2 separate regions of the Homo sapiens genome follow, and region 2 is linked to region 1. Evidence: promoter capture Hi-C in human tissues and cell types (Jung and others, 2019). All regions are on one chromosome and are shown on one strand. The core of a region is centred on a gene start or on the middle of the fragment in contact, and the rest is flanking DNA. Distances in the headings are between cores, read along the strand shown.

The links. The method cuts DNA at HindIII sites, captures the fragments that hold promoters and counts their contacts. A contact is called where the count stands out against the background at its distance.
Region 2: a fragment that was not itself captured here is called in contact with the fragment with the promoter of ZNF385B in region 1 in 1 of the 25 tissues and cell types used here (dorsolateral prefrontal cortex).

Annotation. Positions count from the first base shown.
Region 1 is chr2:179,858,800-179,863,383 of GRCh38, reverse strand. It overlaps ZNF385B (zinc finger protein 385B), which reads left to right and starts at 1,772. Exons shown (of 10, transcript NM_152520.6): 1 at 1,772-2,283. It overlaps MIR1258 (microRNA 1258), which reads left to right and starts at 2,476; the gene lies at 2,476-2,548. The HindIII fragment of the contact is 6,066 bases long and covers 1-3,252 here.
Region 2 is chr2:178,784,681-178,789,264 of GRCh38, reverse strand. It overlaps TTN (titin), which reads left to right. Exons shown (of 363, transcript NM_001267550.2): 14 at 3,124-3,417; 15 at 3,523-3,645. Among named protein-coding and RNA genes, the nearest start is that of TTN, 20 kb to the left of the region's middle. The HindIII fragment of the contact is 6,263 bases long and covers 1-4,584 here.

The DNA.
Region 1 (4,584 bases), core at 523-3,022:
GTTTTGTGCTTGGGGCTCCAGAGGCCTTAATCCTGCCTTGGCTAAGGACGTGAAGGGCAGGATTCTTAGTCAGTTATGTCACAGGTGAATAATTGGGAGTTGTCTGCATGTATTTTATGCTTCTTTCAGCTGTTAGGAAATGCAACCCTCAAATTATTCTCTGCCGTGAGTCTTAGCTATAGGTGATTAAAAATAGACAGGGAGGAGGGAAGGATATAGTTGCAGTTTGCAGGACATAAAAAATGCACATGCTGCTAAACTGTGCAAGCCACGGAGAACACTTCTCACAGGTGTTCCACTCTGCAGAGGTTACTCATTTGCCTCCAAGTGCAATCCAAGGTGTTGACTGGAGACTTTAAGGGGCCCTCACCCCTTTCTCTGCATCTTAGATTCCTGGAGATATCAATACTTACCTGAGCTCAGAGGCAACCTCGACAACCACGCTGTCCCAACTCTGAAGTGCATGGCACTGGAAGCTGGGTGTTTTTCTCATGGAAGGTTTTTGCCTCTGGAATTTCCTGCTTGTCCCAGTCTGCCAGAGCTCCATCTTACTGACCTTCAGGGACTTGTGAAAGACGTGTTTTCAACATAACCTTTATTGATGACAAGAGACCTTAAGATCATAATTTTGTGAAAGATAATTTAAGCAATTATCATAGCTCATGTTCTTTTGGGTTAAAATGATTGAATTTTGGTGCTGTCCTTCTGTAGCAACTTCAAATAAGGTACAGTTTTAAGAATAAGCACACCAATAAACGTTTGTTCTTAGTATTGAGACTGCCGACCTGGATGTGAAGATATTTGGATTCTAAAAATACAAAAACTGTAAGTCAGATTTATGCCCTTTCTCACGCTGGTACCTCAAATGTGCTGGTGCTTGCAATAACTCTACATTCCAAGGTGCTTAAAAACACAGCCTGCTCCCTTAGAAAGCTCTAGGATGGTGTGATTGTTTGTCACATCTGAAGCCCACCCTGGGAGAACAACATTGGCTTTGGCTGGACGTTAAGATATTTATTCTAGACGATTATGCCAAGACATTAACAGCTGCAGGATTATTTACGTAGTGTCAATCATCTGAGACAAGAACCAAAGAAAAATATTTTAAGATCATCTGGTTAAAAAAAAATCCCTGCTATATAACACAACTCTCTTGTCATTTATGACTATTGAACTTCTCCCCAAAGAAGTAATCTCAGAAAACTGCTCTTTTAAAATTATTTTCCCTTTCTTAAGTGTTCTAAGTGCTTTCCCTTTCAGAACCAAGCACCTTGGCCATGTTTGCACTAATTTTCAGAAGATGCCCTCTACATCAGGGTAACCGATGACAGGTTTTAGTTTTGAAAACTTAAACACGGAAAAGAAATCCGGCGAAAATGAGCCCCCCGCCCACAACCCTTTCAGATCTGCTGCGAGGCTGCGATGCCTTCTTGCGCTCCGGGCCTTCCCGGCTCCGCCAAATATGCCGAAGCTGCTAGCTGTGCTCTGCTAGCCCAGGGGTGGTCAAAGAGGAAAAACAAATAGTTGGTCTGACGATCTCCAAGAAGAGAGTTTCACTCTGGGTTGACTAATATTGGAAGCATCCGCCCCATCGCGGGGCTTGGCATCTAGGCTTTGGGACCTCTGCCATTGCCAAGGATCTCTTCGGGGACCCGAGCCCCCGGGCTGAGGACCGCGGGGGACCCCAGGTCGGGACGGAGCCTCCTCTGGCTCGCTGTGCGCGCACGCCTGGAAAGGCGGGATTTAAGGCAGCGATGCTGCGGGAGGCTCTGCAGTGTCAACGAGCCCCCGAACGGTTCCGCCTCATTCCCTCTCTGTGTGCCTCGCAAGTCTCTGCTTAGTAAACCGTCACAGCTTCGGCGCGCGAGAGTGGCGTTGGCACGTCCAAACCCCGGGGTCCTCGGCCAGGCCAGGGGGGCGGGCGTGCGGCGGGGCCGGGCCGGGCCGGGCGCGCCCAGCGGGCTCCGGGCACACGCCCCTCACCTGGGCGAGGCCCGGTGCGCAGGCGCTCAGCGCGGGGGCAGCGGCCGGGCGCTTAAGCCCGGCGCGGGCAAGAGTTGGACAGTTCAGGGGCCGCGCCGGGCCGAGCTGTCGCCCGCGCCACCTCCACCGCCGCCGCTGCTACCGCCACCGCCACCGCCTGGGCTGCAGCAGATCGCGGGAGAACGTCTGCGCGAAGCCCCGGTGCAGCCCTGGCGGGACCGCAGCAACCACCGGAGCGTGAGCAACAGCTTCCCGGCTGGAGGAGCCACTGCCCCACGCGCCCGCGGCCCGCGCGCCGAGGTAAGCTCTGGGCGCCCAGCCCAGACCGGCGCCCCCGGACTGGGCGCCCTCTGCTTGCCCGGCCCCCGCCCTCCTCCGCAGAGCGAGCCTGCACCTGGGCGCGCCGCCCGAGGGAATGGCCAGGAGCCCCCCTCCCGGTAGAGTTTGCACTTTGTCTCAAGGTCCCACTTGTAGAGGAGGGCGCCCAGGCGCCTGTGGCTTCCACGACCTAATCCTAACTCCTGCGAGTCCCTGGAGTTAGGATTAGGTCGTGGAAGCCACAGGAGCATACTCCTCTGTTCCCCAGGGTAGGCTCCAATTCCCAAGGACGGATGGAGAGGGGAAAGGACGAGGAGAGTGCCCCGCTATGTTTAGCCGCAGCGCCTCGTCACCTGGGCTGGAAGTTTGGGGTTTGTCTTTCTCTCAATGACCGGGAAATGGGTAGTTAGGGGACCGAGGTGTGTGAGGAGGGTAGCGGTCGAAGCTTGGGGTCGTGGGAGAGTTCTGCAGCAGAACCCAGATGAGATGGGGGCAGAGGAGCAGAGAGAAGGTCCCCGAAGTTTGCACTTGTTGGGAGCCCTGACGGGCGGCCTCGGCCACTAAGCGCTGGTGAAGGTGTCAGGGAAGGGTGGGAGGACACTGTGGGACTGCGGAAGGGACGAGGAGAAGGGGAGGGGGAGGACCATCTGTTTCGCCACTGTTATGTGCGGGGGCCTGTGGGGAGAAGGGAGAGCTGGCAGGACGATGCTTCCCTAGACTCTGGAGGACACACAGTTTTTATGGTGAACCTGGATAGGGAGTGCTGTTCTTCAGGGGAAATAAATTGCCAAGAAGTATCCCCCCTCTCCCCACGCCCATGAATACAAAATAACGCAGTTTTGGAATGCTCTCAAAAGTTCTTGGGTTGGGAAACGTCTTCTTTCATTTTCATACAGAGATGAGGTTTGCATTTCCTTTTGGTTTTGCTTTGCTGAGGAATATCACACCAAGGGGAATGCAAACTTTGTCAAGATGTAGTAGCAAAAGATGTTCCTATAGAAGGAACAAAACATTTCTGTTATAGGGCCTAGCCTAAAGCGTGGAAACTGGCAGCGTCCACACAATTCATGAAACGGTAGGAAATGCATTTATCTAATTAAAAAGAGGGCTTTTCATAAAGTCAATAAGCTACATCTTAGGTAAGTTAAAGGCTTTGGCTTGAAAGAACTCCCTTAAATGTTCCAAGGCCAAATTTCACTGGTTTTCAGAGTCCTTTAATCTTATTTTGATGCCATGTGTGCGTTGAGTATGTGCTGCCCCTTCCCTGTAACAGATAAATGCCTTTAGAATGCAAAATACAGCATTGCAAGTTCTGTTACTTGAGGTTTTTAAGATGAAAAAGATGCTTATTTGATCAAAGTGTTGGTTGTTTTTCAGATTCTATATTCCCATAAATTAAATATTTGTGGATTTATAATTTACACTCTTACCTATTTCCAAAAGTGATTTGAGGAAGCTTGGGATAAAAACCACAAATCAGATAGCTATTCTTGTAGATCTCCTTGACCTCTCTTGGATGCATTTGTAGTAAAATGCTTTGGGGAAGGTGAATTCTCCTAACAAAGGAAAAATTACTGTCCATGTTGGAATCATCTTGGTGATACAATGTTTTGCAGCATAGTTTCTTATGTGCTTTGTTTGCAGTATATTATTTTACATTACATAAGTAATGATCTCTTTATAGAAGTTTAATAACCACTAAGTATCATCTATATTGAAAAAAATGTTGATATTTTACAGCATTTTAACAATATACAGATTCACAGAGCAAAAAGAAAACAATGAATTTAATGTATTTTTCTTCAACTGAGGTACAAAGGAAACCAAACGGAGGTGTCTCCTCTATAGTCAAATCAGAGAGGGAATTGTCATTAGTACCTGTCACCCAAATATGGCCAATTAGTGAGACCTGTCAGCAGCTGGAAGATAACTTTAAAAAGTGTAACTATTAAATGAGGATCGATCAAAGCATATCAGGTGCTCTCAGCATTCTTTTTCTCAGGCAAGTGACCTGATTCAGAGAAAAAAAAATCTTTCAAAACAATTCTGAAAGGTGAAATGCCTGTACAGACTAATGCTATGTGGAGTTGGGCACCATGAAAAAGACAAGGATCTTAAGTCCCTGGACTGGCCACCCCGCCTCCCCTGCCCTTAGACTTTTTTTCCAAGCTGAATTTGAAGATATCATTGCTTGATTTTTCATAGCAACAATTTATATTTTAAAAATTGAGCAATTAGCTAACTTCTTACAGGAGTGAGTCTTTGTTCACATAAATAAAGGGC
Region 2 (4,584 bases), core at 921-3,420, 1.1 Mb after region 1:
TCTCTGAATTTCTTATGTATGAGTCACTATTAACCAAATTTATTTTTTAGACAATTAAATAATTGGAAACTAAAAAAATTTATTATTGTTAATATTACTACATATCCCTTTCTCCACTTATCTCTTCACCATTATTGTCAACATTTTATTAACATCTGGGAATCTTCCAGAAGTTGATTAAAATTGCATGCAGGCTAATTTTAAGAGGCCCATGAACATTTTTTAAAAACACGGAAGATGTATAAGTAAATGATGACTCTTACTCACTGTCAAGAAGATGTGTGTTTTGAAGGGTCATAAATTCAGTATATTATGTTATGGAGTATGACTTATTTCAGTAAATTACCCATAATTTTCTTTGTATGAAACTTTATCTTTTTTCCCTCCTGTAAATATCAGAGGAGAAGATAAGCTGAAAAAATTATAATGCATGCTGTAGCAGCTCCCACTAAAGCTAAACAAGATGCATATTAAAATCTAGAGAAGGAAGTATCCAAACAGAACAATTACACATAAGCCATGAAAAGATTACCGTATCTATTTGTAGCTATGAAATATCCATGAATTAAACTGTTTCCCATGACTCTGTCATTTACTCCAAATGAGCCATTTACCTAATTGTATTCTTTATTGCTAATATACCACTTGAAAATTAGCAACTAAAGTTTTTCCATTTCATTAGCAGGATGGCCTGAATCCTATTTGTATTTCCCTCAGTGTCATTTTCTGACTCTACATCTTTTTTTTCTAAGATATGATTTAAGATAAACTTTTTAAACCTTTACTCAAATCTAACATTTAATGGCATATCAGCCTTTCAGAAGTCTCATAAATGACAGAAATTCCACTATGCAACATACTTCATGAGTGATTAACTTTTTACTTTTGTTTCCATTCAAATTTTGTCATGAATTGACTATCTTGTTTTTGTTAAAAATTAGCTAAGGATGGAAGCTGAGAAAATGTTTATACCTGAAGTAGTAGTTACCACTGCAAAATCTGCTGAACCAGCCACACCGCCAATGACTAGAGAAGGATTCACTATTAAACAAAAACAAATACATCTTTTTCGAGAAGAGATGAAAACTGATGCTATGGAGGTGAAAAGTATTGTTTCATCCCATTTCATCATCAACTCTCATAACTTTTCATCCGTCGTGAATTGTGCTTCTAGTGTTCCATCTAATTGTTTAACTGATCAATAAAACAATAGAGATGGTTAGATTCAGTCCATCCTCCAGTTGAACAGTGAGCATTTCTAGTAGTGAAAAGTCAGACCAAATAATACTCTTCTTTATGTCTCCTAAATTTATTCTCAGCATTTAACTCGTATGAATTGGAGTATTCTAGTCCAATTTGTCTTCCTGCTTCTCTAGGTTACAAACATGTGAGAGATATCAAAGTCCACTAAGAAATAAAAGCGGTTACCAGCATACTCATTTGTAGTCCACCAATAAGTGTGTGTATATAAATCTGATATACAATAATTCAAGGAAAAAACAGACAGATGCTTCCTCAATTTAAAATATTTTACCATGATTAAGATTTTTCCATATGTTTAAAATCAAGAACAAAATTTAAATATTTCAGTTGTGTGATATTTAGTCATATGACAGTTTCTTTGACAGTTTCTTTTATCATTGTTAAAATAAAATTAAGACTTAAGCTGACTACTTCATAGCAGACTGGCTAAAAGGTTCAAATGAGATATAGTGGAAATGTGATCACACTACAATCAAAATAATATTTATTTATTTAGTGTTATCTGTCGAAGATGTTAACATTTTAAAATGTCTATACAATTAAAGTCAGCTCATTGCCAATATAGTTTTTAAAAAAGAAAAAAATAAATGGACAAACTTAACTCACCTAAGCCTCATGTGTATTTTATGTTTTTTTCTGAGATGATGCAATCTAAAGTGAAGATGGTATTTGCAGTCCTTCGAGGCAGATGAAATTGTTTGTGTCTTCCTAAAAGGAAGCCCTGGATAAAGCCCATGATCACTAAAGACCCAATTCCATCTCAGAAAAATCTCATTTATATCTTGAATGGTTCAGAGAATAATTTTTAAAGATATGCAGGTAGCATAGTTGAAGAATGTTTCTGATGCATTCTAGATTCTATTCACAGGTATAGAAAACTGAATATTAATAAAATTTTCCAATCTTACTTTTAAAATGCACTTTTAAAATGTACTTTTAAAATGAACATGGCTATGTGATTTTTGAGGTATGCTGTTTCCAAGTATCACATAGAATCATAATATCTAAGCCACATCAGCTAGTTTGCCTTCTTTAAAAGAGAACCTCCTCTGCAAATTGTATTTCCATTAATGTTCATCAGACTCAGAAACGAGAAAATAATATTTGTTTCATTCTTTGCTTTAACTCTCCATAATAATGAAAGTAAATTAAACTTCAATGTGAAAGGTTGTTCTCTTGAATCCAAACATGATAACACTTTCATTTTAATCACAATATTTTTATTTGCACGGGGTTCTCTTTGTCATCTGTGTGTTTTAAGAAAGGTATTTTCTGATAGATTAAACAATCTTACCCTTAGGGAATCATAAGTAAATTCATATGCTCACTCTGTGTTTGTGAGCTTTCATGTTATGTCCGATTTGCATGCAACCATATAACTCTGTAGTCACTGATTTTTCTGGACAGGATGATGACGGTATTTGAGTGCACTTATATCATCACTGTCACTGCATTAATACCAGACTAAATGGTCAACAAGATAATAAAAATAATCAGTGAAAAGAACCAGCTCCAAAATTCTGATTTTCCAATTGCTGATTGATTGTCTGCCTGGAAAAATTCTAGAAAATTTCAAAATCTTCTTGTGATTTTATGTTCATATTGTGATTGTCCTATGTTGTGTATATGTGATTTAATGTCTAGTATAATTAAGTAGGTGTACAGAGAGTATATCTAAATAGATGTCTGTACAATATAATAATCAATGAAATAGTCCCTAAAAGTGTTTCTGAGATACATTTCTAGACACGTTAACACTGCTGTATAATGTGGACGCCATCTGCCTGTCCTGATGCCCAGGAGATATTCCAGCCTGATCTCGATATTCCTATGTATTAATTCTGGAAACCTTGTCTCCAGGTGGACGTTGGAAAAAAGGCTGAAGCTGTAGCAACAGTTGTTGCTGCAGTAGACCAGGCCCGAGTCAGAGAGCCCAGAGAGCCTGGGCATCTTGAAGAATCCTATGCTCAGCAGACCACTTTGGAGTACGGATATAAGGAACGCATTTCCGCCGCAAAGGTAGCTGAGCCTCCCCAACGTCCAGCCTCAGAACCCCACGTTGTCCCTAAAGCAGTCAAGCCTAGAGTAATCCAGGCTCCTTCTGAGACTCATATCAAAACTACTGATCAAAAGGGAATGCACATATCATCACAGGTGAGTCTATACCTGCTGATTTTTCACCTTGTTCATGGTAAAGCAAGCCTCACTGCTGTGGTCATCTGGTGATCAATGGTATCACTGAGTTTCATTTCAATGCAGATCAAGAAAACTACAGATCTAACAACGGAAAGATTAGTCCATGTGGATAAACGCCCCCGCACAGCTAGCCCTCACTTTACTGTTTCAAAAATTTCTGTTCCTAAGACAGAACATGGATATGAGGTAAGAAGTTACAGAGCATGATACAGAAATGTTTAAAGGAAATAAGTATCTAACCTGTGAAACAGAGCATCTCTGGGGTAGGCCAATGGAGGATTCTTTTTTGGTGATGTGTGTGTGCGTGTGTTTGCATTCACAGTGGGCCCAGACACCCTAAAGATTTGGTTTCTGAAACTCGCCCAGGGGAGTGAGCCTAGAGTCACAAGTGGTTATCTTATACCTCTGAGGAGAGACAAATCCACACAGGCTTCTCTCTAGTTCACATTTCAGGGACAGCTCAAACTCAATTGTTTTGATTACTATTGTTCTAATGATTTTGTGAAAGGTAGTGTGTTACACAGCATAGTTTTACTTATGCTGTGAGACATTTCAGAGTAACTTAACTGTGAATGTGTTTCAATAATAAAGACAGACATTGAGAAATCATATATTTATATACTCAATATAGCAAGATGGAGAGGTGGTACTGTATGGTGGTCGGGTTGGATTGTGGAATCAAATAGCTCTGGATTAGTGCCCTATCTTCTCCCTTATAATCTCTGTCATCAGGAGAAAGTAAGCATACATGTAAAATGCAAGTAAAAAGGACATAAAAACCTGCAGTTGTCAGCATGTAATAAATCCTTGATATTAGTCACTATTGTTATTATACACATCCAAGAAATAGAACCCAAACCTTCTATGCCTTCAAAGAACTGTAAGTTACATATAATGCCTATATTTGATTTAGTCCCAAATTACAAAACAAATAACCATAGACCACAACAGAATAAAAGCAGTAAGGAAACCTTTAAAATATTTTTTCTGAATGTCTTCATGTTTACCTTTCACATAGATTTGTGGCTAAAACCCAAATGTACTATTGCAAAGTAGTTCTTAGGCATTTACCAACAATTTCAATAATTTCTTAATTTTGAATCTCCCACTGTGGTATTTTCAAAA